Regions from separate parts of the Homo sapiens genome. Here all the other regions are linked to region 3. Evidence: promoter capture Hi-C in 16 types of primary human blood cells and fetal thymus (Javierre and others, 2016). All regions are on one chromosome and are shown on one strand. Each heading gives the region's core, a stretch centred on a gene start or on the middle of the fragment in contact. The rest is flanking DNA. Distances are from core to core; before and after follow the strand shown. Region 1 overlaps USP31 (ubiquitin specific peptidase 31). Region 2 overlaps RRN3 (RNA polymerase I transcription factor RRN3). Region 3 holds the start of COQ7 (coenzyme Q7, hydroxylase).

What was found. The method cuts DNA at HindIII sites, captures the fragments that hold promoters and counts their contacts. A CHiCAGO score of 5 or more calls a contact.
Region 1: a contact is called between a fragment that was not itself captured here and the fragment with the promoter of COQ7 in region 3, in 1 of 17 cell types (total CD4 T cells). The highest score is 7.2, in total CD4 T cells.
Region 2: a fragment that was not itself captured here is called in contact with the fragment with the promoter of COQ7 in region 3 in 1 of 17 cell types (neutrophils); the score reaches 5.3 in neutrophils.

What each region holds. Positions count from the first base shown.
Region 1 is chr16:23,143,240-23,146,709 of GRCh38, forward strand. All of the region lies in intron 1 of USP31 (ubiquitin specific peptidase 31), which reads right to left. Among named protein-coding and RNA genes, the nearest start is that of USP31, 4.5 kb to the right of the region's middle. The HindIII fragment of the contact is 4,574 bases long and covers 1-3,470 here.
Region 2 is chr16:15,057,322-15,060,569 of GRCh38, forward strand. It overlaps RRN3 (RNA polymerase I transcription factor RRN3), which reads right to left. Exons shown (of 18, transcript NM_018427.5): 18 at 2,712-3,248. It also overlaps a transcript of PDXDC1 not described here. Among named protein-coding and RNA genes, the nearest start is that of NTAN1, 2.9 kb to the left of the region's middle. The HindIII fragment of the contact is 5,530 bases long and covers 1-3,248 here.
Region 3 is chr16:19,066,252-19,069,540 of GRCh38, forward strand. COQ7 (coenzyme Q7, hydroxylase) reads left to right here and starts at 1,363. Exons shown (of 6, transcript NM_016138.5): 1 at 1,363-1,486. The coding sequence starts at 1,414. COQ7-DT (COQ7 divergent transcript) reads right to left here and starts at 1,440. Exons shown (of 3, transcript NR_119381.1): 1 at 1,330-1,440. RefSeq lists a silencer at 1,387-1,546 and an enhancer at 1,577-1,726. The HindIII fragment of the contact is 11,366 bases long and covers 1-3,289 here.

The DNA.
Region 1 (3,470 bases), core at 53-2,552, 4.1 Mb after region 3:
GCTAGCTGTTCTTTGCCAGCACAATTTAAAAACTGCTGCCATAAAATTTATCTTTCTTGCTTGAAAGATGACCATCCATCTTTTTACTTGCTGCAAAACGGCTCTGAGCTCTAAAACTCAGAAAGCATTTGTAAGAATCTGGGGCACCCATGCTCCTATGAAAGCAATAAGCTGATTCCCTTTAAAATGGCATATTATGTATTCAAAGTGATTTATTTACTCTCACTATTTTACTAGGAAAGTGATGCAAGGGTCCTGCCAGTGAAGCCCAAGTTTTACCCTAGTGCTGCTGCAAACACATATACACACTCAGAGACAGAGAAGGAGAAAGAGAGAGGGAGAGGTTGGGGGGGGGGAGAGAGAGAGAAAGAGAGAGCGCGAGAGATAACAAGGTAACCATTTTAAAGGCTGGGGAAGTAAAAGGAAACTTGCGCTGAGTCTCCAAACTTTCCTCCAAACAGTTTCTCAGCCTCAGCACTACTGACACTTTGGGGTGAAAACCCTTTAGTAAGGGGGGCTGTCCTGCACATTGTGTGACATTTAGCAGCATCCCTGGAATCTACCACCACATGCCAGTAGCACCCTGATCCCAGCTGTGACAACCAAGTAGGGTTCCAGACATCGACAAATGTCCCAGGGGGTGGGGGCAGGGTGGGGTGAGGACAGGCAAAAGTGCCCGTGTTGAAAACCAGTGCTCTAAGAGTAGGAAACAAACAAACAAAAAATCTGTGTGAAAAGAGAAAGGATAAAGGTAATGGCTAGAGACATTTTTTACAGCATATCAAGGTTGAGCTAGTCAACTCATTTCATCCTGGGAAATGAAAACCCAACTTTAACAACCATCTAGCCCATCCAAAACCAAAAACCATCTACTTGGCAAGCTCCTAAAACTCAAATCAATGTGGTTAAAAAGGAAGAAAGAACTCTAATTGAAAAACTTACAAAGAAAAGCATTAGTAACTTAAAGTTTTAAGATAATAAAAGCACAAAGACATAGTAAGTGCTTTTCTAACCTCAAGGTAACTATCTCAAGATGGCAAATTGGTTTTATCTCCTCTGCCAACTTCAACTAGGTGGTGGTGGCTGCCTGGAGCCCTTCTAGAACTGAGCAGGATTCTAAGGCTGAATGTGAGCGATGTGAAAGTGAAGAATATCTGAATGAAATAACGATGTCCACCCCAAGCAGGCGAAGCACAGTGAGGTATGCCTCAGGTCCACCTTCTGGTGTTTACCTTTCTTTTTTTTTTTTCCTTTTTTTGAGGCAGAGTCTCACTCTGTCACCCAGGCTGGAGCGCAGTGACATGATCTCTGCTCACTGCAACCTCCACCTCCTGGGTTCAAGAGATTCTCGTGCCTCAGCCTCCCGAGTAGCTGGGATTACAGGTGTGTGCCACCACGCTCGGCTACTTTTTGTATTTTTTTAGTAGAGATGGGGTTTCACCATGTTGTCCAGGCTGGTCTGGAACTATTGGTCTCAAGTGATCCACCCACCTTGGCCTCCCAAAGTGCCGGGATTACAGACATGAGCCACTGCGTCCTGCCTTAGCATTCAACTTTCTTTATATTCAAAATAATACCCATCAAATTTAGCTAAAATAAAACCTTTTTTTAAAAAGTAATCAATTTGCCAGAGTTACCTAACCGGGGGAATAAAAAGGGGAAAAGAATCTAATTATATCACTTCCTTGCTTAAAAATCACCTCTGGATTTTCAACTTGCAGAGGATGAAATCCAAACCAGCATAGCTCACGAAGCCCTTCACAGTGAGTTTCCAACACTCTTCTCCCAGGCTTCCTGCACCCCCACTGCTCTCTATGGTGCAGCCAGCCACTAAATGTCTATTCCCCAAAACCACACGCCCTTTCATGCAACTCCACCACTTCCTTGCCCTGCAAATTTCTATTCATCTTTCAGAACACTGCTCAGGAGCCACCTTTTTGGTAATGCTTTCCTTGTTCCTTGATGCCTGCTATACACAGGATGGTCCTTGAGCCAAAAGCACTGGCATCACCAGGGAGCTTGTTAGAAATGCAGAATCTTGGGCACCGCTCCAGCTCTACCGAATCTCAATTTCCTTTGTAGCAAGATCCCCAGGTGAATTATGTGCACACTGACGCATGAGAAGCGCTGTCTCAGGGAACTTCCTAGATCCTACTCGACTCAGCTCTTCATAGCTCCCTGGGAGGTAAACCCCTCCTTTACTCATCTCCTCTGTGAAGACAGGAAAACCCAAATGCCCACCCTCCAGCCTCCGTGACAGCCAATTGACATGGTTATAGCCAATGAAATATCAGCAGAAGCCTGCTGAGGGGGCTTCTGGAAGAATTTTTATTTCCCTAATGACTTCCTGCCGTCCTGGGTAGAATGCCAGGTGCAGTGGCTGCCATCACTGGACAACCATGAGGTGACAAACCTAAGAACAAAAAGCCAATGATAGCTAAAAAGACAACAGGTGGAAATACAGAAATGGTCTGAATCCTTGTTGGGCCCAACGAGCCACTGAACCATAGAACCATCCACCTCCGGAATCACTGTGTGTGCCAATTGCCAATTGCAACGTTTTCATTGCTTAAGGCACTATCATTAGGGATTTTCCTTTCTTGGGCTGAAGGCATTCCTAACTGATTAAGTAAGCCTTCAATAAATGGGAGGTGAATGAATGAATGTAGAGTGAAACCTACTAAAGGTTCAGGAGATTACTTTTAAAAAGCCAGGCCTCTAAGAATCTGTTCATGTCTGCCAAAGCATGCCTATAAATCAGTCTCTGTACTTCTAGAATTATTGACCCATTTCTGTTCACAGCTTAATGGATAAAAAAGTGAACACAAACTCATAAAAAGCAATGGAAATGTTCACATACAAAGATGCTGTAGAAACTGATTTTCACATTTTGGAAAAGAGGAGAAAACCAAACTTAAATACTAGGCTCTGACCTCGAAAAGTTTACAAATGCTGTGGCTACTTACAGGCAATTGTAAGCAAAGAGGGGCAGTGTGGGGTGGGGGGCGGGGGGTGGACCTACAGTAGTCAGTTCTCCTGATCATTCTCCCTTTCTAATTTTGAGATCTCAGCTGGGCACGGTGGCTCACGCCTGTAATCTCAGCACTTGGGGAGGCCGAGGCAGGTGGATCAAAAATTAACTGGGCATGTAGCGGGCGCCTGTAGTCCCAGCTACCTGGGAGGCTGAGACAGGAGAATTGCTTGATTGAACACAGGAGGCAGAGGTTGCAGTGGGCCGAGATCAGGCCACTGCCCTCCAGCCTGGGCGACAGAGTGAGACTCCATCTCAAAAATAATAATAATAATAATAATTTTGAGATCACTGACATAGATCTTTTTTTCCAGTCCCTATCTCAGTCAAGTACTTCCATTCAAATTGCCAAGATCAAACAGCAACGATTTTTTTCCAAGAAAAACAGCATTGAGCAGCATAAGATGTAAGTAAAAAGTATTAAACGGGGAGAGATGCA
Region 2 (3,248 bases), core at 619-3,118, 4.0 Mb before region 3:
TTCTCATTTGTCCTTACAAATGTAGGAGCTACTATCAACACCTCATTTGTCATTTGTCCTCACAAATGTAGGAGCTACTATCAACACCTCCGTTATAACAGATACAGTAACTTGCTCAAAGTGGTAGAAATAAGTAGTAGAACGAAGACTGAACCTAGCTTTGCATGATTCCAAAGGCAGTGCTCTCCATCACTATAAGATGCTCCTAGACTGTACTGTAAACAACTCATTCTAATGCAGGTGACATTAAGTAAGTCCCAACTAGGAAGCTCGGAGCTAAAAACAGGGTTTGAAACCAGGGTGATCAATGACCAGCAGGCTGGCCTGGAGCAAGTTACTTAACTTCCCTGAACTGGTTTTGTAGAATAGCATGTTTGTTTCACCTGGTACATACTAAACACTAAAGATAGCTATTATTGGAATTGCAGAGCAAAGAGTAGTCAATCAAAGTGAGGCATTTGGAAGTGCAAAGGTGAAGAACAAGGTTCTGTGGGTTCTGCCTGGGGCTGGTGCAGTTTGCCTAACTGGTTTTTCACTTTTGGGTGATCTTTTTTCAAGTAATCTCAGGTTATCAATCTCCTAGGCTGAGTACTGTGTTAAAGGACTAAATGAGCCAGATAACAAGCAGGAAACCACTCCCCTACCTCTCTTCCCACCCAGCTCCACAAATTTTGGTCTACAGGCAATGAGGAAGCAATAGCAGGTGTGTGGCCAGCACTGCGGCTCATGCCTGTAACCCCAGCACTTTGAAAGGCCGAAGGAGGACTCACTTGAGCCCAGAAGTTCGAGACGAGCCTGGACAACACAGGGATCCCTGCTTCTCCAACAAATACAAAAATTAGCTGGGCATGGTGGCAGGCCTGTAGTCCCAGCTACTCGGGAGGATCAATCAAGCCCTAGAGGTCAAGGCTGCAATGAGGCACGACTGTGCCACTGCACTCCTGCCTGGGTGATTACAGCAAGACCGTCTCAAAAAAAAAAGAAAAAGAAAAAGAAAGCACTAATTACAATGTTGGAAAGCCTGTTTCTTTAAGATAGGAAACCAACCTGCCTCACAAGATGGCTGATGGCAAAGTTCAAAGAATATATACAGGGAAATATTTTTTAAATTACACTTTTTTGAGGCCAGACATGGTGGCTCACGCCTGTAATCCCAGCACTTTGGGAGGCCGAGGCGGACAGATTGCTTGAGGTTAGGAGTTCAAGACCAGCCTGGCCAACATAGTGAAACTCCATCTCTACTAAAAATACAAAAATTAGCCAGGCATGGTGGTGCGTACCTGTAGTCCCAGCTACTCAGGAGACTGAGGTGGGCGGATCACTTGAGCCCAGGAGGCGGAGGTTGCAGTTGTTGAGCTGTGATTGCACCACTGCACTCCAGCCTGGGTGACAGAGTGAGACTCTTGTCTCAAAAAAAAGAATGATGAACATTATACAGAACCTTAGTAAATATTTAGTGAAAGGATCCCAATTTGTGTTTCAAATTTTTTAATGTAGAGATGGGGGTCTCACTATGTTGCCCCAGCTGATCTCAAACTCCTGGCTTCAAGAGATCCTTTTGCTGGCCTCCCCAAGTGCTCAGATTACAGGCATGAGCTACCACACCTGGCCCCAAATTATTAGATACATTATAAATCCTACTCAACCATCCAGAGTCAGACTGAAACACACAAAAGCATTTGATGGAAGAAAACATGGTGGAGCTTTGGATGTTCAATTAGTTGAAACAAGAAAAGTATGCAGTTGTACACCAATGAACAGTTCTCAAGGCAGCCTGCACCTTCGAATCACCAGGGGGCTTTAAAAACCATCCATGTCCAGACCCCTCTTCTGGAGACTGATTCAATCAAAGGTTGAGTTGGTGTGTGACGTGAGCCTGGGCATCCTTAGTTTCTCAGCACTCCAAGGGACTGATTCTAGGGCACAGCCAGGGTTAAGAACCACCATCGTAAGCACTGCCCGGCAAGGGAAACACGCTGGTTCCTCCTCTCCAGTTCAGATCTAAGTTGGTACCAGGGAGGTAGGTATTATGGAAGAAATAGAAGTTATCTTTAACCAAAAAAAACTTCCCATGGAAGTGCTTCCTTTCTTGCAAGAAAACAACAGCCATTAACTTGTACATGCATCGAATCCTTAAAGCCTTACACTAGTATCTTATTCCCATTTTACAGTTTAATTAGCGCTCAGAGAGGTTAGGTAACTTGCTCAACGTCAAACAGCTAGCTAGGAAAGGAAGCCCATGGCACTTGGTAAGTTGACTTGTAAAAATTCAGCCACTTCTCATCAAGGAAGACCAAACCAGAGCACACAGACAAAAGGACAGACCCTGGAGACTCCTACAACTGACAGCTTTTTAGTGAAAGGAAAAATTCCCATTGTTGGCATGTAATTTATAAGGAGATTTCACAGTATTTTTCCCCATAGATGTCCCTTCAAAGCATGTAACTTTTTGAAAGAAGTGTCTGCTTCCCTTGGACCTGCTCAAGCCTCAATCACTCTTTGCTGGGTGTGATTAAGGAGAGTCGCGGATACTTCATATAGTGCACACGGAAACCATCCTCACCCCGGCATGCAATGAATTCCATCAAGCTCCCCGCCACACCAGCACTATTTCTCCCTCTTCAACAGCAATGCCTCAGGAGTTTTCCACTGCAAAATGCTTTAATACATTAAATTAAAAAAAAAAAAACAAAACAGAAATTGAAAGAACATGTATTGAGGTACCTTTTATTGGTATAAGAACGTAAGTTCCAGATTAACCATGTCATTGTTTCATTTTCACCATGGATTTTTTTTCACAAACTCCTTTGAAATTAAACAGACTTATATGTAAATGTCTTTCTACATTAAAACTACTTCCCAACCCACAAAGACCCCACTTACTACTAATTTCTGGGGAATTTCGTTTACTCGTTTTATCTAATATTAAAAAATCAACATTTTGCCAGCAGTTAAAAAGACAACCTTAAAGTTCTCAAATTACTTTCCACCAAACCCGGAAAAGAAAACCACCCATATCCAAAACTTTAAAGCAATAAAAATTTCTATTTTCCAAAAAAGTATTTACAGACTGAAATTCAAACTCTACATTGCCATCAATGTAATTATACAAGTGCATACAAAGCCCTGGAAAAGAGGAAGTATTTCATTACAAAATATTTATGATCAAGAAAATATTGCTTGCCTTTAAATAAAGTGGCAGAAAATAAATATGCTTAAAGATGGCCATTTTCACAAGTAAACAAAAA
Region 3 (3,289 bases), core at 113-2,612:
CAAGGTCTCCCCACTGCAATCCAGCCTGTGCGACAGAGTGAAACTCCATTTAAAAAGAACAAAAACAAAAAACAAAACAAAAAGGAAACAGAGACCTAGAAGTGGTATTACAGCAAAGGTTTTGAACATTTTAAGGCTTTTGAGCGCCAGATTCAGACACTCAGTAGTTTTACATGAGAGTGCTACAACATCCTCACTAAGTAGTATTTGGGTTCATCATAATTTTAAATTATTTTGGTGTGTCAATTTGAACACTAGAGTGATATAAAAACTAAAAACTTGAATTCAATAATTTTACAATTGTATTCCATCTTAAAATATTTTATGGTAAACTTGGATAAAGTATATAAATAATCCAAGGGTGTAAAGTAGAAAGTGAAAGCTCCCTTCTCCCAGTTCCAGCCCCCTGATGTTGCCAATATTAAACGTTGTATATCCTTGCAGACACGCATCTTTGATTTTTGCCCTCATGTACATTACTCATTTAAAAATTATTTCGTTGAGTAGATTCCTAAAAGTAAGACTGCTGTATTATATGATCTTTTTAAAGTATGTTGCTAAATTTCCCCTCCCTTCTCAAAAAATTCCAATTTGCACAAATATACATGCATACATGCACACAGTACATTAAGGTGGATACCAAGGATAAAACATGTTCTCTGTTTCTGAAAATAGAGAAAAGACCGGGAAGAAGTTTAAAGTTGGCTTTCAGCCCACCAATAGAGATAACACTATATAACACCATTAACCATGTGGTGCATGTAATTTAGATATACATATAATTTTATTTATTTATTTATTTTTCAGACAGGGCCCAGGCTAGAGTGCAGTGGCAGAATCACGGCTGACTGCAGCCTCGAGCTACCGGGCTCAAGCTATCCCCCCACCTCAGCCTCCCGAGTAGCTGGGACTACAGGTGTGCTCCACCAGACCCGGCTAATTTTTAAAATTATTTGTAGAGGCGGGGTCTCGCTATGTTGCCCAGGCTTACTATTTTAAAGTAGATGTAGGATACAAATAAAAAAAAAAATCTCCTTCCACGTAGGTAAAGCAGGAAATACCGTGCCTTGTTAATAAGTAATTCCCTCATGATCCTTTTCCCCAGGAACTTGGGTGAGAAATCATAACCTTGTCCTGATCTTTCTAAACAGCAATTTAGCATTTTCATCTCCCTGGCAACCCAAGGCGCCTTGGCCTTGGTCTTCCGAGTGATTGACAGTGACCCCACCCAATAAAATCTTTTTATTTGTCGTATCTAACCAATCTAACCCCTAGCGCAGAGCTAGGGGGCGTTCCCACCGGTGCGCGGGCGAGCTGAGCCTTCCTTACGTCTGCTGTGCGTCATCAGTCCGAGCCAAGGGCACTATTGGCCAGTTCCGTTCAACGAAGTGGTTGCTTTTTTTAGTTCCGGCAATGAGTTGCGCCGGGGCGGCGGCGGCTCCCCGCCTTTGGCGGCTGCGCCCGGGGGCCCGGCGGTCCCTCTCAGGTAAAAGGAGGCGCGCAGTCACAGTCCTGCGCCGGTCTAGCGAGCTAGGGAATTTTCGCTTGAGGTTTGGGTCGAAGAGGTCACGGGGGAGAGGTTCGTAACGTCACAGGCCTGCGACGGAGCGCGACTGCGTGACTTCGGCCTCCGGGGCGCTGGCGGGCGGGGCGGGGTCTGTAGTTAGCGGCGAGAGTGACAGGAGGACAGGGGTTGTTTCGGCAGTGACGCCTGGGGAGTGACGCAATTGCACCCCTGTGCAGTGATGTCACGGCAGGTGCGGCCAGCGTTCCGAGTCGAGGACAGTTGGCGACACTGAAAATTCAGCGTCTCCGGGAGTCTCTCTCTTTGTAGTCTTTGCCCAGGGCCTTGCCAGGCAAAGGGTAGCCCGACGACCAGCAGCCTCCGCTACTTCTGGGCGCTCGCTAGAAATACAGATTCTCGGGCCCCACCCCGACCTACTTGGTCGGTATCTGTGATCTGTGAACAGGACCTTTAGGTGATTTGCATGCACTGTAAACTGTGAAAGCCATCAGTGTAGTGGAAGGAGCATCGAATTTAGAGTAGAGAGACATGGTTTTGGACCCTGGTTCCTGCTTTCCTTGTTTCATCTGTGCTGCCTTAGAAAATTGTCATGAGCCCGGGCGCGGTGGCTCCGGCCTATAATCTCAGCACTTTGGGAGGCCGAGGCTGGAGGATCCCCTGAGGTCAGGAGTTTGAGACCAGCCTGGCCAACATGGTGAAACCCCGCCTCTACTAAAAATACAAAAATTTGCCAGGCGTGATGGCAGGTGCCTGTAATCCCAGCTACTCAGGAGGCTGAGACAGGAGAATCGCTTGAACCCGGGAGGCAGAGATTGCTTTGAGGCGAGATTGCACCACTGCACTGCAACCTGGGCGTCAGAGCGAGACTTTGTCTCCCCCGCGCAAAAAAAAAAAAAAAAAAGAAATTTCATGAAGTCGTTTTCTCAACGTTAAATTACCGTGTACCACTTTCGGGATTTTTGCCTAATGGCAGTACTGCTTGAACTTTTGATTACTAGATGTGTTTTTTTGTATAGCTATGTCCCATTTAAAAATTAAATTAATTTCCTTGAAACAAAATCCTTATGGTGAATGGGAAGCCAGTGCCACTTGCCACAAATGGGTGAGTAATCATTAAAAAAAAACAAACAAATTAAAAAGTTATGAAATTGTATTAAATACTGTCTTTCTGTTACAAAGGGGAAATTAGCAAGTGTTGGGAAAGTGTTAAGGCTATACCAGCTGTAAATGGAGTTATCTTCCTTAATGAAAGAGATTGCAAGAGATTTTGAAAGAGTACCCCTTACTACATGGGGTTATTTGCTGCATATCCATAAGCCACTTAATATTTTGTAGGTACCACACTGGCATGTTTCACACTTTGGGAAAATATGGACATAAAGTGATGCATTTGAGAGCTAGCACCGAGCCTCAATTTTACTTTAAAGTATATGGTAATGCAGGCAAAACTCCGAGGGTTGTTGAATGTGAATTTTAATGCTGCTCTGTTCAGCCAGTGAGCATAACAGAATAAGACTCATTTCTGTTTATAAAGTTACTTTGCTTCTTATATCTTATTTTATCCTCATAACTCAGTAAGAAAAGTTTATTATTGTATGTTTTCCCTTAAAAAGGAAAGAGCCTGATTATTGCCTTTTTTTTTTTTTTTTTTTGAGGCAGAGTCTTGCTTTGTCGCCCAGGCTGGAGTGCAGTGGCGCGATCTCAGCTCACTGCAACCTCCGCCTCCTGGGTTCAAGTGATTCTCCTGCCTCAGACTCCCGAGTA